Regions from separate parts of the Homo sapiens genome. Here all the other regions are linked to region 3. Evidence: promoter capture Hi-C in human tissues and cell types (Jung and others, 2019). All regions are on one chromosome and are shown on one strand. Each heading gives the region's core, a stretch centred on a gene start or on the middle of the fragment in contact. The rest is flanking DNA. Distances are from core to core; before and after follow the strand shown.

The links. Contacts are between HindIII fragments. The study calls those that stand out against the background at their distance.
Region 1: a contact is called between a fragment that was not itself captured here and the fragment with the promoter of CYTH2 in region 3, in 1 of the 25 tissues and cell types used here (pancreas).
Region 2: the fragment with the promoter of TULP2 here is called in contact with the fragment with the promoter of CYTH2 in region 3 in 1 of the 25 tissues and cell types used here (neural progenitor cells).

What each region holds. Positions count from the first base shown.
Region 1 is chr19:48,726,855-48,731,801 of GRCh38, reverse strand. RASIP1 (Ras interacting protein 1) reads left to right here. Exons shown (of 12, transcript NM_017805.3): 5 at 2,212-2,865; 6 at 4,372-4,409; 7 at 4,644-4,795; 8 at 4,914-4,947. LOC124904737 (a long non-coding RNA gene) reads right to left here and starts at 3,658. Exons shown (of 2, transcript XR_007067286.1): 1 at 3,434-3,658; 2 at 287-536. The HindIII fragment of the contact is 9,581 bases long and covers 1-4,947 here.
Region 2 is chr19:48,895,477-48,900,096 of GRCh38, reverse strand. TULP2 (TUB like protein 2) reads left to right here and starts at 1,353. Exons shown (of 13, transcript NM_003323.3): 1 at 1,353-1,507; 2 at 2,228-2,260; 3 at 2,701-2,752; 4 at 3,541-3,667; 5 at 4,594-4,620. The coding sequence starts at 2,229. RefSeq lists a cis regulatory region at 609-1,608, enhancers at 1,143-1,958, 4,406-4,620 and a silencer at 3,840-3,979. The HindIII fragment of the contact is 17,343 bases long and covers 1-4,620 here.
Region 3 is chr19:48,467,532-48,472,332 of GRCh38, reverse strand. It overlaps CYTH2 (cytohesin 2), which reads right to left and starts at 2,964. Exons shown (of 12, transcript NM_004228.7): 1 at 2,807-2,964; 2 at 1,833-1,980; 3 at 1,664-1,730; 4 at 1-8. The coding sequence starts at 2,825. It overlaps LOC105372430 (a long non-coding RNA gene), which reads left to right and starts at 2,800. Exons shown (of 3, transcript NR_186576.1): 1 at 2,800-3,322. RefSeq lists a silencer at 2,759-2,948 and enhancers at 2,312-3,305, 3,499-3,658, 3,363-3,863. The HindIII fragment of the contact is 6,294 bases long and covers 1,075-4,801 here.

The DNA.
Region 1 (4,947 bases), core at 1,984-4,483, 260 kb before region 3:
GACTGGAAAGACCCATTTTTCTACAAGGGTAGATGAGCAAATCTTTTGGAGGTAGGAGTCTTTTTGGAAACACCCATTCATGGGGTAGGGGTAATGGTAGAATTTAGTGTAGAAGGGGGATCTATGCATATCAAGATGCCTGTTGTCTCAGACATGGTTGGCGAATGGAAGGGGGTCAGATTGAGTGGTTCTACATTTATGGAATGGAGATGAGAGTCCATTTTTTAGGACGAGGTCTTCTGGAATGCCTGTCTTCATTTGATAAATGAGATGGAACACTCCATGGTAAGAGGTTGTCCGTGAAGGCATTTATTTATCCGTGGAATGACCAGAAGAGCCCACTGTATGGAGATCTTTTTGGAGATGTCCTTTTTGGGGATTGGAATATTGAGAACGTCCATTGATGGAAGGGGGGTTATCTCTTTGAAATCCTCCGTTGGGGGAGTGGGAGTAATAGGTGAGTCCATTGTAGGAGTCCATTGTAGGAATATTGAGAACATCCATTGATGGAAGGGGGATTATCTCTTTGAAATCCTCTGTTAGGGGGGTGGGAATAATAGGTGAGTCCATTGCAGGACTTAACTCCTGCAACCTCCACCTCCCAGGTTCAAGCGATTTTCCCGCCTCAGCCTCCCGAGTAGCTGGGATTATAGGCATGAGCCACCTCACCTGGCTAATTTTGTATTTTTAGTAGAGAGAGGGTTTCTCCACGTTGGTCAGGCTGGTCTCGAACTCCCTACCTCAGGTGATCTGCCGGCCTTGGTCTCCACTGCGCCCGGCCTCTTTTTTTTGAGTCTCACTCTGTTGCCCAGGCTGGAGTGCAGTAGCCTGATCTTGGCTCATTGCAACCTCTGCCTCCTGGGTTCAAGCGATTCTTGTGCCTCAGCCTCCCAAGTAGCTGGGACTACAGTCATGCGCCACCATGCCTGGCTAATTTTTGTATTTTTAGTAGAGACAGGTTTCACCGTGTCTGGTCTTGAACTCTTGACCTCAGGTGATTCACCTGCCTCGGCCTCCCAAAGTGCTGGGATTGCAGGTGTCAGCCACTATGCCCAGTCCAAGGGAATCTCTTTAAAAGTACCCATTCATTGCTTGAGGAATATTGAGAAAAACTATTATTGGAAGGGGAAATATATCTGGAAGCCTTTACCATGGTGGGGTGGGGGTGAAATAATGGACAGGTGGGACCAGGGATGGGGAAAAGGAGATTTCCTTGGAAAGGTCCATTCTTTGAGGGTGAGGGTAGTTGCACAGTTCATTTTAGAAATAGGGATCTCCTTGAAAGCATCTAATGCTTGAGGGAAAGAAATGGTAGAGCCCATGTTAAGAAATGGGTCTCTGGCTGGGTGTGGTGGCTCACACCTGTAATCCCAGCACTTTAGGAGGCCAAGGCAGGCGGATCACAAGGTCAAGAGATCGAGACCATCCTGGCCAACATGGTGACCCTGTCCCTACTAAAAATACAAAAATTAGCTGGGCGTGATGGTGCGCGCCTGTAGTCTCAACTACTCGGGAGGTTGAGGCAGGGGAATCGCTTGAACCCGGGAGGCGGAGGTTGGAGTGAGCCGAGATCGTGCCACTGCACTCCAGCCTGGCAACAGAGCGTGACTCTGTCTCAAAGAAAAAAAGGGGGGTCTCCTTGTACATAGCCGGTCTTCGGGATGGGTGTTATGGGACCATCCACCATACAAAGTGCCTGGGAAGAGTCCACTCAGTGGCGTTGCGGGTGCTTAGAGAGTCCTTTGAGATCCAGATCTCCTTGGAGTGTCTATTCAAAGTCGGTGGGGGGCCGGGCGCGATAGTTCACGCCTGTAATCCCAGCACTTCGGGAGGCCGAGGTAGGTGGATCACCTGAGATCAGGAGTTTAAGACCAGCCTGGCCAACATGGTGAAACCCTTTCCCTACTAAAAATACAAAAATTAGCCGGGTGTGGTGGCAGGCGCCTGTACTCCCAGCTACTCAACAGACTGAGGCAGGAGAATTGCTTGAACTCAGGAGGCAGAGGTTGCAGTGAGCCGAGATCGTGCCACTGGACTCCAGCCTGGAGGACAGAGCGAGACTCCATCTCAAAAAAAAAAAAAAAAAAAAAAAGAAGAAGAAGGAAAAAAAAAGTTGGTGGGAATAGAAAAGTTGTTGTAGAAAACAGAGAGAACAGATCTGAAGATATGGATTGAAGTGATGTCCTTAGTGCATCCTCGTTTCCCCTCCAGGACTTTGTGGTGTATGTGATGACGCGAGAGCAGCACGTGTTTGGGCGAGGTGGGAACTCGTCTGGCCGCGGGGGGTCCCCGGCTCCCTATGTGGACACCTTCCTCAACGCCCCGGACATCCTGCCGCGTCACTGCACAGTGCGCGCGGGCCCTGAGCACCCGGCCATGGTGCGCCCGTCCCGGGGCGCCCCAGTCACGCACAACGGGTGCCTCCTGCTGCGGGAGGCTGAGCTGCACCCGGGCGACCTCCTGGGGCTGGGCGAGCACTTCCTGTTCATGTACAAGGACCCCCGCACTGGGGGCTCGGGGCCTGCGAGGCCGCCGTGGCTGCCCGCGCGCCCCGGGGCCACGCCGCCAGGCCCTGGCTGGGCCTTCTCCTGTCGCCTGTGCGGCCGCGGCCTGCAGGAGCGCGGCGAGGCACTGGCCGCCTACCTGGACGGCCGTGAGCCAGTCCTGCGCTTCCGGCCGCGCGAGGAGGAGGCGCTGCTGGGCGAGATCGTGCGCGCCGCAGCCGCCGGCTCGGGAGACCTGCCGCCCCTCGGGCCCGCCACGCTGCTGGCGCTGTGCGTGCAGCATTCCGCCCGTGAGCTGGAGCTGGGCCACCTGCCACGACTGCTGGGCCGCCTGGCCCGGCTCATCAAGGAGGCCGTCTGGGTGAGCGCCCCCCAATCGCCGTCCAGCCCCACCAGCGCCCCAAGTCCCTTCTCCAGCCTCCCTTCCCTACCTTCAACCCTTTTCATAGCTGGGCTGGATACTACTGTTCCCATGACGCCTCGGGAAGGATTTGGGGTTTTGGGTTTTGTTTGTTTGTTTGTTTGCTTTTGTTTTTGAGACGGAGTCTCGCTCTGTTACCCAGGCTGGAGTGCAGTGGCGGTCTTGGTTCACTGCAACCTCTACCTCCGGGGTTCAAATGATTCTTCTGCCTCAGCCTCCCGAGTAGCTGGGATTGCAGGCGCCTGCCAGCACGCCCGGCTAATTTTTTGTATTTTTAGTAAGACGGGGTTTCACCATATTGGCCAGGCTTGTCTGGAACTCCTGACCTCGTGGTTCGCCCGCCTCGGCCTCCCAAAGTGCTGGGATTACAGGTGTGAGCCACCACACCCGGTGTTTTGGGGTTATTAAGCAAGGGGCCCCCCCATAGAATGCTGGGAGATGTAGATCCACTGCACTTAGAGGGAAGCCCAAACTCACCTTAGGAGAGCTCACCTAAGCACGAACTCACCTTAGGAAGAAACCATTATGGGAGATGGTGGGGGAGAGATCCCACTGGATGAGAAGTTGACAGAGATCAGTGTGAGAATTCACCGCAGCCCATTGGGCTTGGAGCTTGGATAGCAGTGAGCGAGTTCATTCTTGGAGGCGAGGAAGCACAAATCCACTGGACCTACAGATGGAAGTTCCAGAAAGAAACCATTCAGAGTGGGGGAAACGTTCCATCCTATTGAGCTAGGGCCTAACCAGAGAGGTTTAAGGAGTTTCTTGGGGGTAAAAATTGGAGAAGAGGACCTGAAGGAGCTAGATCACTCATAATCATAGGGTGTGTATGTTTTAAAAAGTAAGGAGAGACCATTCTAAAGCTTGTGGGATTAGAATTTGTCTCAAGAGCCAGGCGTGGTGGCTCATGCCTGTAATCCCGGCACTTTGGGAGGCCGAGGCGGGCAGATCACCTGAAGTCGGGAGATCGAGACCATCCTGGCTAACATGGTGAAACCCCGTCTCTACTAAAAATGCAAAAAATTAGCCGGGCATGGTAGCACATGCCTGTAATCCCAGCTACTTGGGAGGCTGAGGCAGGAGAATCACTTGAACCTGGGAGGCAGAGGTTGCAGTGAGCCAAAATTGAGCCATTGCACCCCAGCCTGGGCAACAACAGGGTAACTCCATCTCAAAAAAAAAAAAAAAAAAAAAGAATCCGTATGAAGAGTGAAGGCCGGTTGCAGTGGCTCATGCCTGTAATCCTAGTTCTTTGGGAGGCCAAGGTGGGAGGATCATTTGAGCTCAGGAGTTGGAGACCACCGGTGGCAACATAGTAAGACCCCATCTCTAAGAAAAGTAGGACCAGTCTCTATGAGAGTTGTGCTTCTATAAAAACCAGGGTATTAACTCTTAAGCCCCTCAGTGGATCCCCCTCACCTTGATTCTGATCTTACTGTTCCACAGGAAAAGATTAAGGAAATTGGAGACCGTCAGCCAGAAAAGTAAGAGAAATTCTGAGCAGAGTGGTCTGGAGGGATGCAGGGGTTGGGTTTTGCGTCTAGTTCTGTGTTCACCCCATGCATGCCCCAGTGCAAGTTTCTGCTTCTCCTTGCGCTCAACTTTTCCAGCTGCGCAATGGGAGTTGGTCTTGCTCTCCCACTTAGACTTAGATCTTGGGGTTTGTAAACTATGATGAGGGTTGGGCAGGGATCACAAATTCCTTCCTCTTTTTCAAGCCACCCTGAGGGGGTCCCCGAGGTGCCCCTGACTCCTGAAGCTGTGTCTGTGGAGCTGCGGCCACTCATGCTGTGGATGGCCAACACCACGGAGCTGCTTAGCTTTGTGCAGGAGAAGGTGCTGGAAATGGAGAAGGAGGCTGACCAAGAGGGTGAGCTCTGACTCAGGCTCAGGCTTGTCCAAGTCTCCCATCATGCCCTGCACCTGGGGACCTGGGCTCCTGGCTGCCGACTTCTGGTTCTCCCTCTTAACCCCAAGCCTGTCCTCAGACCCACAGCTCTGCAATGACTTGGAATTATGTGA
Region 2 (4,620 bases), core at 104-2,603, 430 kb before region 3:
AAAGATAACTACAACTCCCTGCCGGCCGGGGGAAAAATAACTTCCGCGGGCATCGTGGCCCCTTCGCCTCATGGGAGCTGTAGTTTTCCCATTTATTTTCGCCCCACGAAGTGCCTGGAAGTTATAGCGCGGTAGCAATTGCATAGCCTTTCTTATGAGTTTCTTTCTTCTTCTTCTTATTATTCGAGACAGGGTTTGCTCTGTCACCCAGGTTGGAGTGCAGTGGCGCAATCACTTCTCACTGCAGCCTCTACCTCCCAGGCCCAAGCAATCCTCCCGCGTCAGCCTCCCAAGTAGATGGGACCACAGGCCACACTACCATGCCTGGCTAATGTATATTTTTTAAATTTTTAATACAAATATTTAAATCTTTAATTCTTTTTTAGCCTTTTTTTTTTTTTAACGTTCTGTCTTTCACACTTCTCACACTTTGTTGTTGTTGTTTTTTAAAGAGACGGATGTCAAGCCGGGCTTGGGGGTTCACTCCTGTAATCCCAGCACTTTGGGAGGCTGAGGCAGGCAGATCACCTGAGGTCAAGGGTTTGAGACCAGCCTGGCCAACATGGAGAAACCTCGCCTCCACTAAAAATACAAATTAGCCAGGCGTGGTTGCGCATGCCTGTAATCCCAGCTACTCAGGAAGCTGAGGCAGGACAATCTCTTAAACCCGGGAGGCGGAGGTTGCAGTGAGCCGAGATCGCGCCACTGCACTCCAGCCTGGGCGACAGAGTGAGACTACGTCTCAAAAAAAAAAAAAAATCTCTGTGTTGCTGGTCTGGATCTGGATCTCCTGGACTCAAGCAATCTTGCCTCCCCGTCTCCGCCTCCCAAAGTGCTGGGATTACAGGCGTGAGCCACTGCGCCCCGCCTCTTTTAAGTTTCTTGTAAGCGAGATGTGTACAGTGAGGCCGCGAGGTCTCTGGTCTCCCGCTCTCTCTCTCTCTTTTTTTTTTTTTTTTTGAGACGGTGTCTACCTCTGTCACACAGGCTGGAGTGCAGTGGCGCGATCTCAGCTCACTGCGAGCTCCGCCTCCCGGGTTCACGCCATTCTCCTGCCTCAGCCTCCCGAGTAGCTGGGACTACAGGCGCCCGCCCGCCACAACGCCCGGCTAATTTTTTTGTGTATATATATATATTTTTTTTTAGTAGAGACGGGGATTCACCATGTTAGCCAGGATGGTCTAGATCTCCTGACCCCGTGATCCGCCCGCCTCGGCCTCCCAAAGTGCTGGGATTACAGGCGTGAGCCACCGCGCCGGGCCGGTCTCTGGTCTCTTTAAGGAACCCCCACACGGCATTCGTGTTCAGAACCCCCGGAGCAGGGTTGCCTGGCTGCATCAGTGACCGAGTTCGTTACTTTGTTGGAAGTGGAGAGTGGAGGGTCAGAAGGGAGTGGACCAGTTCAGGTCCCAGAGGGAATCCTCCCTCCCTCTGAGCCGTCTTTCTTCTCCTCCCTATTTCGCAGATATCCCGAGATTAGGTCCCCAGCTTCCAAAGAGAGGATCAGGTATGTTTAGAGATTGGCCAGAGAGGCAAGGTACCGAGGCATCAATGTGAGCAGCCTCTCCAGGCACCTGGTGAGGAGAACAAGTCTCCCGGATCCCAGGCAGGTGGGCAGTGGAGTTCTAGGCCGCTGGGGGCTGGGTGTTTGAAGTGCACAGTCCTGAGTTCTGATGCCTGGGTGCTGGAGAATTAGATATTTGGGGGAGAGAGAAGCGGACTTGCGGACCCCCGTGGGAAGCTGGAAACAGGCTACTAGATCCCGACAGGAGTGGGTGCTGGGATTCGGGCTGCCTGGGTCCGGAAGCAAATTTAAAGGTAAGGATCAGGCCGGGCACTGTGGCTCATGCCTGTAATCCTAGCACTTTGGAAGGCCAAGGCGGGCAGATCACCTGAGGTCAGGAGTCCGGCACCAGCCTGGCCAACATAGTGAAAACCGGTATCTACTAAAATACAAAAAAATTAGGCAGAATAGCGGACGCCTGTAGTCCCAGCTACTCGGGAGGCTGAGGCAGGAGAATCGCTTGAACCCAGGAGGTGGAGGTTGCAGTGGCCGAGATGGCGCCACTGCACTGCAGCCTGGGCGACAGAGCGAGGCTCAGCTGTCTCTAAATACATAAATAAATAAATAAATAAATAAATAAATAAGGCTAAAGATTAGGTGCTGGTGGGCAGGATCCATTGGGATGTTGGTTCTGATCCTGACTCCTCATTCTTGCTTCTGCAGAATGTCTCAGGATAATGACACATTGATGAGAGAGTGAGTAGGGAAACAGATGGGTAGGGGTGGAGGTGGAAAGGGCTGGGGACCCCGTGCACTCGGCTCTGGCTTCATAACCATGTTTGCAGGTTCAGCACCATCGGCCTTGCAGGAAGGGGCTGGGGACCTGGACTCCTGTGTCCTGAAGGGATGGGGCTAGGGTGCAGACTTCTGGGTCTGAAAGAGAAGGGGTTGGGGGCCCCAGACTCCTGAATCCTGAGACAGGAGGGACCTGGGATCTCTGGGTCCCGGCTTCTGTGGGCCAGTGCCAGGAGAAAGGGCCCTATAACTGGTGGAGCAGGCTCAGGTTCTGCACCTCCTGTGACCTCACAGGTGCCCAGAACCCAAGCTGAGATAGGGGCAGGATGGGGGAAGGAGGGACTCTCTTGGGCAACCGAGGTTCCCTGTGCACTGTCACCATGGGCCTGTGTCTCTCTCAGCATCCTGGGGCATGAGCTCGCTGCTATGAGGCTGCAGAAGCTGGAACAGCAGGTATTGTGCCCAGGAATCTCACCACTCCAACTCTTCCGCCTTCTGTGCCTCCCCAGGGGCCTCTCCACCAGGTCTTGCTCTAGGACTCCCAGCCCGTGTTGGCTGTCTCTCATCCTTGAGTTTTCCCACTGAGAAATGAGAAAATAGGAATTTGGGGCCGGGCAGGGCAGCTCACGGCTGTAATCACAGCACTTTGGGATGCTGAGGTGGGCGGATCACTTGAGGTCAGGAGTTCAAGACAAGCCTGGCCAACACGGCGAAACCCCGTCTCTACTAACACACAAAAAATTAGCCAGGTGTGGTGGCAGGCGCCTGTAATCCCAGCTACTCGGGAGGCTGAGGCAGGAGAATCGTTTGAATCCGGGAGGCGGAGGCTGCAGTGAGCGGAGATCGTGGTACTGCACTCCAGCCTGGGCGATAGAGCCAGACTCTGTCTCAAAAAGAAAAAAAAAAAGTAAGAAAGGAAAAAGAAAAGAAAATAGGAATTGGGGGTTCTAAAGAAGCAAACAAACCCTTGTGATGAATTTCTAAGGAACAAGGCTTCTAGAAGGCAGGACTCCTGGGTCCTGGGGGATGAGAGGACAGGGTGTCAGGACTCTTGGATCTGAGTCCAACGGTGGAATAAGGGAGGAGCTGCTGAAGAACTGAGGGCCTGGACGTGTGGGCCCCAGTGGAGGAAGGGGTTCACGAACTCTCGCGCCGATGCGAGCCCTTGCCCCAGGCCCCACCTCACTTCTGTCTTCCCATCTGGTTCCTGTCCCGGACACCCACCTCTCCCATCTCCCCAGCGGCGGCTGTTTGAAAAGAAGCAGCGACAGAAGCGCCAGGAGCTCCTCATGGTTCAGGCCAATCCTGACGCTTCCCCGTGGCTTTGGCGCTCTTGTCTGCGGGAGGAGCGCCTTTTAGGTGACAGAGGTGACCAAAGACCCCTGGGGGCGTTCGCCTGGAGGGGAGGGGCCTGTGGGAGTCTGTGGGCGGGGCCTAGTGGATGAAGGGGTGGAGCCTTAGGGTGGGGACTTGGCAGTGGATGGGGGCGGGCCTTGGCCCAGGAGAGCTTTAGAACAGGGCCTGTGGGCGCCCAGGGGAGAGGCTTGTGGGGGCCCCCCGCGGCAGGACCTGTGAGGGAGGGGTTCGGGGCAGGGCTACAGAGCGCAGGGGCGGGGCATGGTACAACTAGCAGGGGAAAGGGGCAAGAGAATGTGATGATTGGGCTTGGCAGAGCTCGGTGGTGGAGCCTGGGAAAGCCGGGACCCCCACCCCAAACCCGGGATTGCGGAGACGGGGTCTAGGGGTCCGGGGCGGGGCGCGGTCTCATTACGAGAGCCTGGCGCGAGATTCTTTACGTGCGGAGCCCGCAACAATCCAGCGGCAGGGCTGTGCTTGTTTGAGGCTTAGGATGCAGTTTGGGACCTGGGTCTCAAGGTTTGGGCGGTCCGCGAAACAGGGTGATTTTTTTTTCTTTTTTGAGACGGAGTTTAGCTCTTGTTGCCAAAGCTGGAGTACAATGGCAGGATATCGGCTCACCGCAACCTCCGTCTCCCGGGTTCAAGCGATTCTCCTGCCTCAGCCTCCCGAGTAGCTGTGATTACAGGCATGCGCCACCAAGCCCGGCTAATTTTGTGTTTTTAGTAGAGACGGTGTTTCTCCATGTTGGTCAGGCTGGTCTCGAACTCCCGACCTCAGGTGATCCGCCTGCCTCGGCCTCCCAAAGTGCTGGGATTACAGGCGTGAGCCACGGCGCCTGGCGGGGGTGATATTTGGGAGCCCAGTGACGGGGTGGATTTTGGTTGAGGACCGGAATTTGTAGATCGTTTTCATGGGCTCGCTGAACCTTCTCCCAGGCCTTGGGAACCCTTTCCTCCGGAAGA
Region 3 (4,801 bases), core at 1,715-4,214:
TGGATCCCCTGGTGGGTGGGGACAAGGTCTCAGTGCTGAGGGCCAGAAAGCCACCCCACTCACCTCCCTGGGAACCTCAGCATCCAGACCTACCCCCACCCTCAACAGACCAGGGCCAGGTTTCATTTTCAGCCTTCTCACAGGTCTTAAATAGCATTCTTCCCAACTCATGGCCTTTGCACTTCATGGCCTACCCTCTCTGCCTTTGCCTGGTTAATTCCAGCACCAACAACAGGGTCTGGCAAGGCACAGGTGCTCAGTACATTTTCTCTTTTTTCTGAGACCTGGTCTCGCTCTATTGCAGACTGGAGTGCAGTGGCGTGATCACAGCTCATTGCAGCTTCGAACTGCTGGGCTCAAGGGATCCTCTCACTTCGGCCTCCTCAGAAGCTGGGACTATAGGCATGCCCCAACACACCTGGCTAATTTATTTATTTATATTTTTTCTAGAGATGAGTTATCACTATGCTGCCCAGGCTGGTCTCAAATTCCTGGCTTCAAGCAATCCTCCCTCCTCGGCCTCTCAAAGCACTGGGATTACAGGCATAAGCCACCGAACCCAGCCAATCAATGTTTGTTGAATGACTGAACAGAATTCCAATTGCTTCAGGAAAGAATAACGTGACAACCTGTTAGCAGACGCAGTCCTTCAAGGGCTGTGAACTCGAAGCCCTGGCTAGACTGGAGGTTTCTCTCACTCTCTGTGCTACGAAGACCTCTCTACTACTGCTTTATCTCACTGTGAACTGTGGTATCGGTGTCCAAGGGCTCTCTGAGCACAAGGCAGCATCTAATTCTTCTTTGGGTCCCCAGCATTGCCCTACACAGGATCAGACTCTTGAGAGGCCTCAGAAAATGGGTGTTAAATGAGTATGTGAACAGGCCAGGCACGGTGGCTCATGCCTGTAATCCCAACACTTTGGGAGGCTGAGGCGGGCGGATCACCTGACGTCAGGAGTTTGGAAGCAGCCTGGCCAACATGGTGAAACCCCATCTGTACTAAAAATACAAAAATTAGCTGGGCATGGTGGTGGGAGCCTGTAAGCCCAGCTACTTGGGAGGCTGAGGCAGGAGAATCGCAGGAGGCGGAGGTTAGTGAGCCGAGATCACATCGCTGCACTCCAGCCTGGGTGATAGAGCAAGACTCTGTCTCACACACACACACAAAGAGTAGGTGAACAAAAGCCTTTCCTCCACCTGGTGAACACCTACTCATCCTTCAAACCCGACCTGAATGTCTCCTCCTCAAGGAAGCCCTCCCTGACTCCACCAGCCTGCCTCCTCCAGAGGTCCACTACCCTGATACCTTCCTCCGTCACGGCACCTTTGTGGGAGAGAGGTCAACTCTCCTTTGTGCATGTCACTTTGTCCACAGCCCCTACAAGACTCGAGCTCATCTTGGGACCAGAAATGCGCCCATACAAGTAGAAAGTGGAAGACGACCTTCCAGGCAGGGGACAAAACAGTCAGGAGGGCTGGAACACTTGGTCAGTGTTCAGTGTTCAGAAAACAAATGGACAGCCAGTATCTGAATCCAGGGATTAGGACCAAGTCTGTCCACCTAGAATAGACCCGGCACCATCACGCTTCTGGAACCCGGAGGTGCCAGAAGCCCCTGCCTGGATGTTTGCCCAGCTGATCCCAGTCCTGTGGCCCCAAGCACCTTCTTGGGGTCCATGTTGAACTTCTTCCTGCCCATTGCCATCTTCCGGTTCCGTTGCAAGGTCTTACTGCAGGAGCAGAGAGCAGGGTTGGGGGTGGAGGGTCAATGCCTGGGCATCCCTGGCCTCAGCCAACCCCACGCCCCCTAGGTCATCCGCCCCAGCCCTCACCTGCCCTCATTGGCCTCCAGCCCCTCCACCTCGCTCATGGCTTCACTGAGCTCCTCCCGCAGGCGCTGAATCTCCACCAGCAGCTCCTGCTTCCGCCGCCGGATGTTCTCCAGCTCCATCCGCTCCTCCGGAGTCAGGTCTGGGGGTTCTAGGGATCGGGGTCAAGGTTTAAAAGTCAGTGCTAGGGGCCGTGAGCCTGAATTCCTGCAATCTGGGGGCGGACAGAGCTGGGAGAGGATGTGTAAGGGGCTTCCTATGTCTGCACAGAAGAATGGGCTGGGGGCCTGGATTCCTCCCTGCAGAGGAGAAAGAGCTGGGGCTCTAAACTCTTGAGTCCTGGGGGACAAGGGGAATTGGGGCCCGGATTCCTGAGTCTGAGGGAGAAGGGGAATGGGTGCCTGAGCTCTTAGATCTGAGGGAAGAAAGGGCTGGGGGCCTCGGCTTCTAGGTCCATTACTTGGAAGGGGACTGAGGCCTTGGTTTTCTGACTCCATTACTGGCGAGGTAGCTGGGGACCTGGTTATCCGGACTACTGGGTCCATGAAAAGTCACTACAGCCGGGGGAACTGATGACAGCTCAGGAGAGTTGGGAAGGTGGGGCGGGACATCGAAGGCCCCCGCCCCCCAAGATTTCTCCCCTCCCCGCAACCCAAGCGCCCCTCCCCGGCCCCGGCAGGCGCTGGGCTCGCCCGCCCCTCCAGCGGGAATGGTTCCGCCCCGGCCTCGCCTCCACCACTCCATCCCGCCCCTCCCGCCGCCACCGGAAACAGGCTCAGCCCAAACAATGGCCTGGAACGCCCGGCTTTCGGGCCCCGCCGGAAGCCCGTCCAGCGCCCAACAAAAGCGGCGCGACAAGTCTACGACTGAGCCGAACGCTTCTGGGCGCCGCGCGCCAGGGGGAAACGTTCGCGGCGGAACGTTCAGGAGAAAACGCTCCAGCAACTCCCAGCCGACCCCGCCCCTCCCCGACCTACCATAGACGCCGTCCTCCATGGCGGCTAGGAAGGCCCGCGGGGAATCCGGGGCGGTCCCGCCAGTCGGGCCTGGATCCGCGTTGGCCCGCGGGCTCGGGTGAGCCCGCTCAAACGCCCCGGGAGCCACCGCCGCCTCCTCAGCGCCAGTCCTCAGCGCTGAAAAGACTCTTCCCTTCGTCGCCCAACCGCCCCTTCAGTAGGGACCGCCCCTCTTTTTGACACTGTCCAATCCACAGTGGGCGCTTTCGTCCTCCCCGCCCTCGCCACCAAAGGATCGTTCTCCAGGGCCAACAGTCGTACAAAAAGCCGGTGTAGGTATGTCCGGCCAGAGGTAGACGGCCCGCGGGGCCAATCGGAGTGCAGGCAGGGCAGCAGGCCCCGCCTCCGAAACAACAGAAAGCACTTGACAGGCTTGCTCTCCAATGAGAAGCCCCGGAAAAGTGTCGCGCGGAGGCGGAGCCACGCGGTACAGCCACCTCTGCGCCTGCTCAAAGGCCCTGGACACTTGGAGTCTAGGTAAACCGAGCCCCGCCTCCGATAATACGTTGCTAGGGGGCGGTACTTTGTTAGTCTTGTTGCTAGGAGGCGGGGCTAGAACTGGCTTGTTTCCGTAAGCCACACCTCCTAGCAGGCCATGCTGGCTTCTGACCGCAAAGGTTGCCATGCAACCGGGAGCGGCTTTAGGCCTCCTTTTCTTTTGCATTTCTTCTCCGCGTATTTCCCCTCCTCTCAGCCCCTTCTTACCGCCGAACTCCTTCTTTATCACCATCTATGCCCTCCCCATCCCCCTCAGCCTCTTCGGAGTCGTGGAGTGGTGAAACAAAAGACTTCTTCGTTTTTTCTTTTTTTTTTTTTTTTGAGACAGAGTCTTGCTCTGTCGCCCAAGCTGGAGTGCAGTTGCGCGATCTCGGTTCACTGCAACCTCCGCCTCCCGGGTTCAAGCAATTCTCCTGCCTCAGCCTCCCGAGTAGCTGGGATTACAGGGTTGCACCATGATGGTGCATGCCTGGCTATTTTTTGTATTTTTAATAGAGACGGGCGTTTCACCATGTTGGCCAAGCTGGTCTCGAACTCCTGACCTCATGATCCGCCCACCTTGGCCCTCCAAAGTGCTGGGGTTACAGGCGTGAGCCACCGCGCCTGGCCAAGATTTACTTTTTTCTAAATGCTATGCTATTTGGTATCGGTCATGGGGAATGGAACAGGGGAAGGTGAAATTTAGTGAAAGCACAGGCTCGGCCTTCCTGGCACCTTCTGCCGCTCAGACTCCTCCCTCATTTCTCCAAACTCCTTCCTTTAGCTTAGCATCCTCCTAAGACTCCTCCCTTCCCCAAGCATCCTCCTGCTAAGACAACTCCCCTTTCCTCAGCATCCTCCCACCTCTCTGATTCCTTCTCCCATCTCAGAGGCCTTTTTTCCTCTCTGGCTCCCCTCACGTCACGGTCCCCCTTGTCCTCTCATACTCTTGCCCTTTTTTTTTTTTTTTTTTTTTTTGAGACAGAGTTTTGCTCTTTTGCCCAGTCTGGAATGAACTGGCATGATCTCAGCTCACTGCAACCTCCACCCACAAGGTTGACGCGATACTCCTACCTCAGCCTCCCAAGGAGCTGGGATTATAGGCGCCCACCACCATGCCCGGCTAATTTTTGTATTTTTAGTAGAGACGGGGTTTCGCCATGTTGGCCAGGCTGGTCTCAAACTCCTGACCTCAGGTGATCCACCCGCCTCAGCCTCCCAAAGTGCTAGGCGTGAGCCACCGTGCCCATAGGCGTGAGCCACCGTGCCCAGCCACCCTTGCCCTTCTTAAACTCCTCCCTCCTCTGAGGCCCCTTCCCCTTCCCCTTCCCCAGCCTCTATGTCCCATTATTTGTAACGGAATGTGGTCAAGGGACTGGCTGGAATAGGGAACCCAGGCACCCCTGTAAAGAGGGAAGCCGTAATGGGGGCTGAAGTGGTGTCTGGGCCTCGTCCTCATTTGCTGTCCCTGGGCTGGGC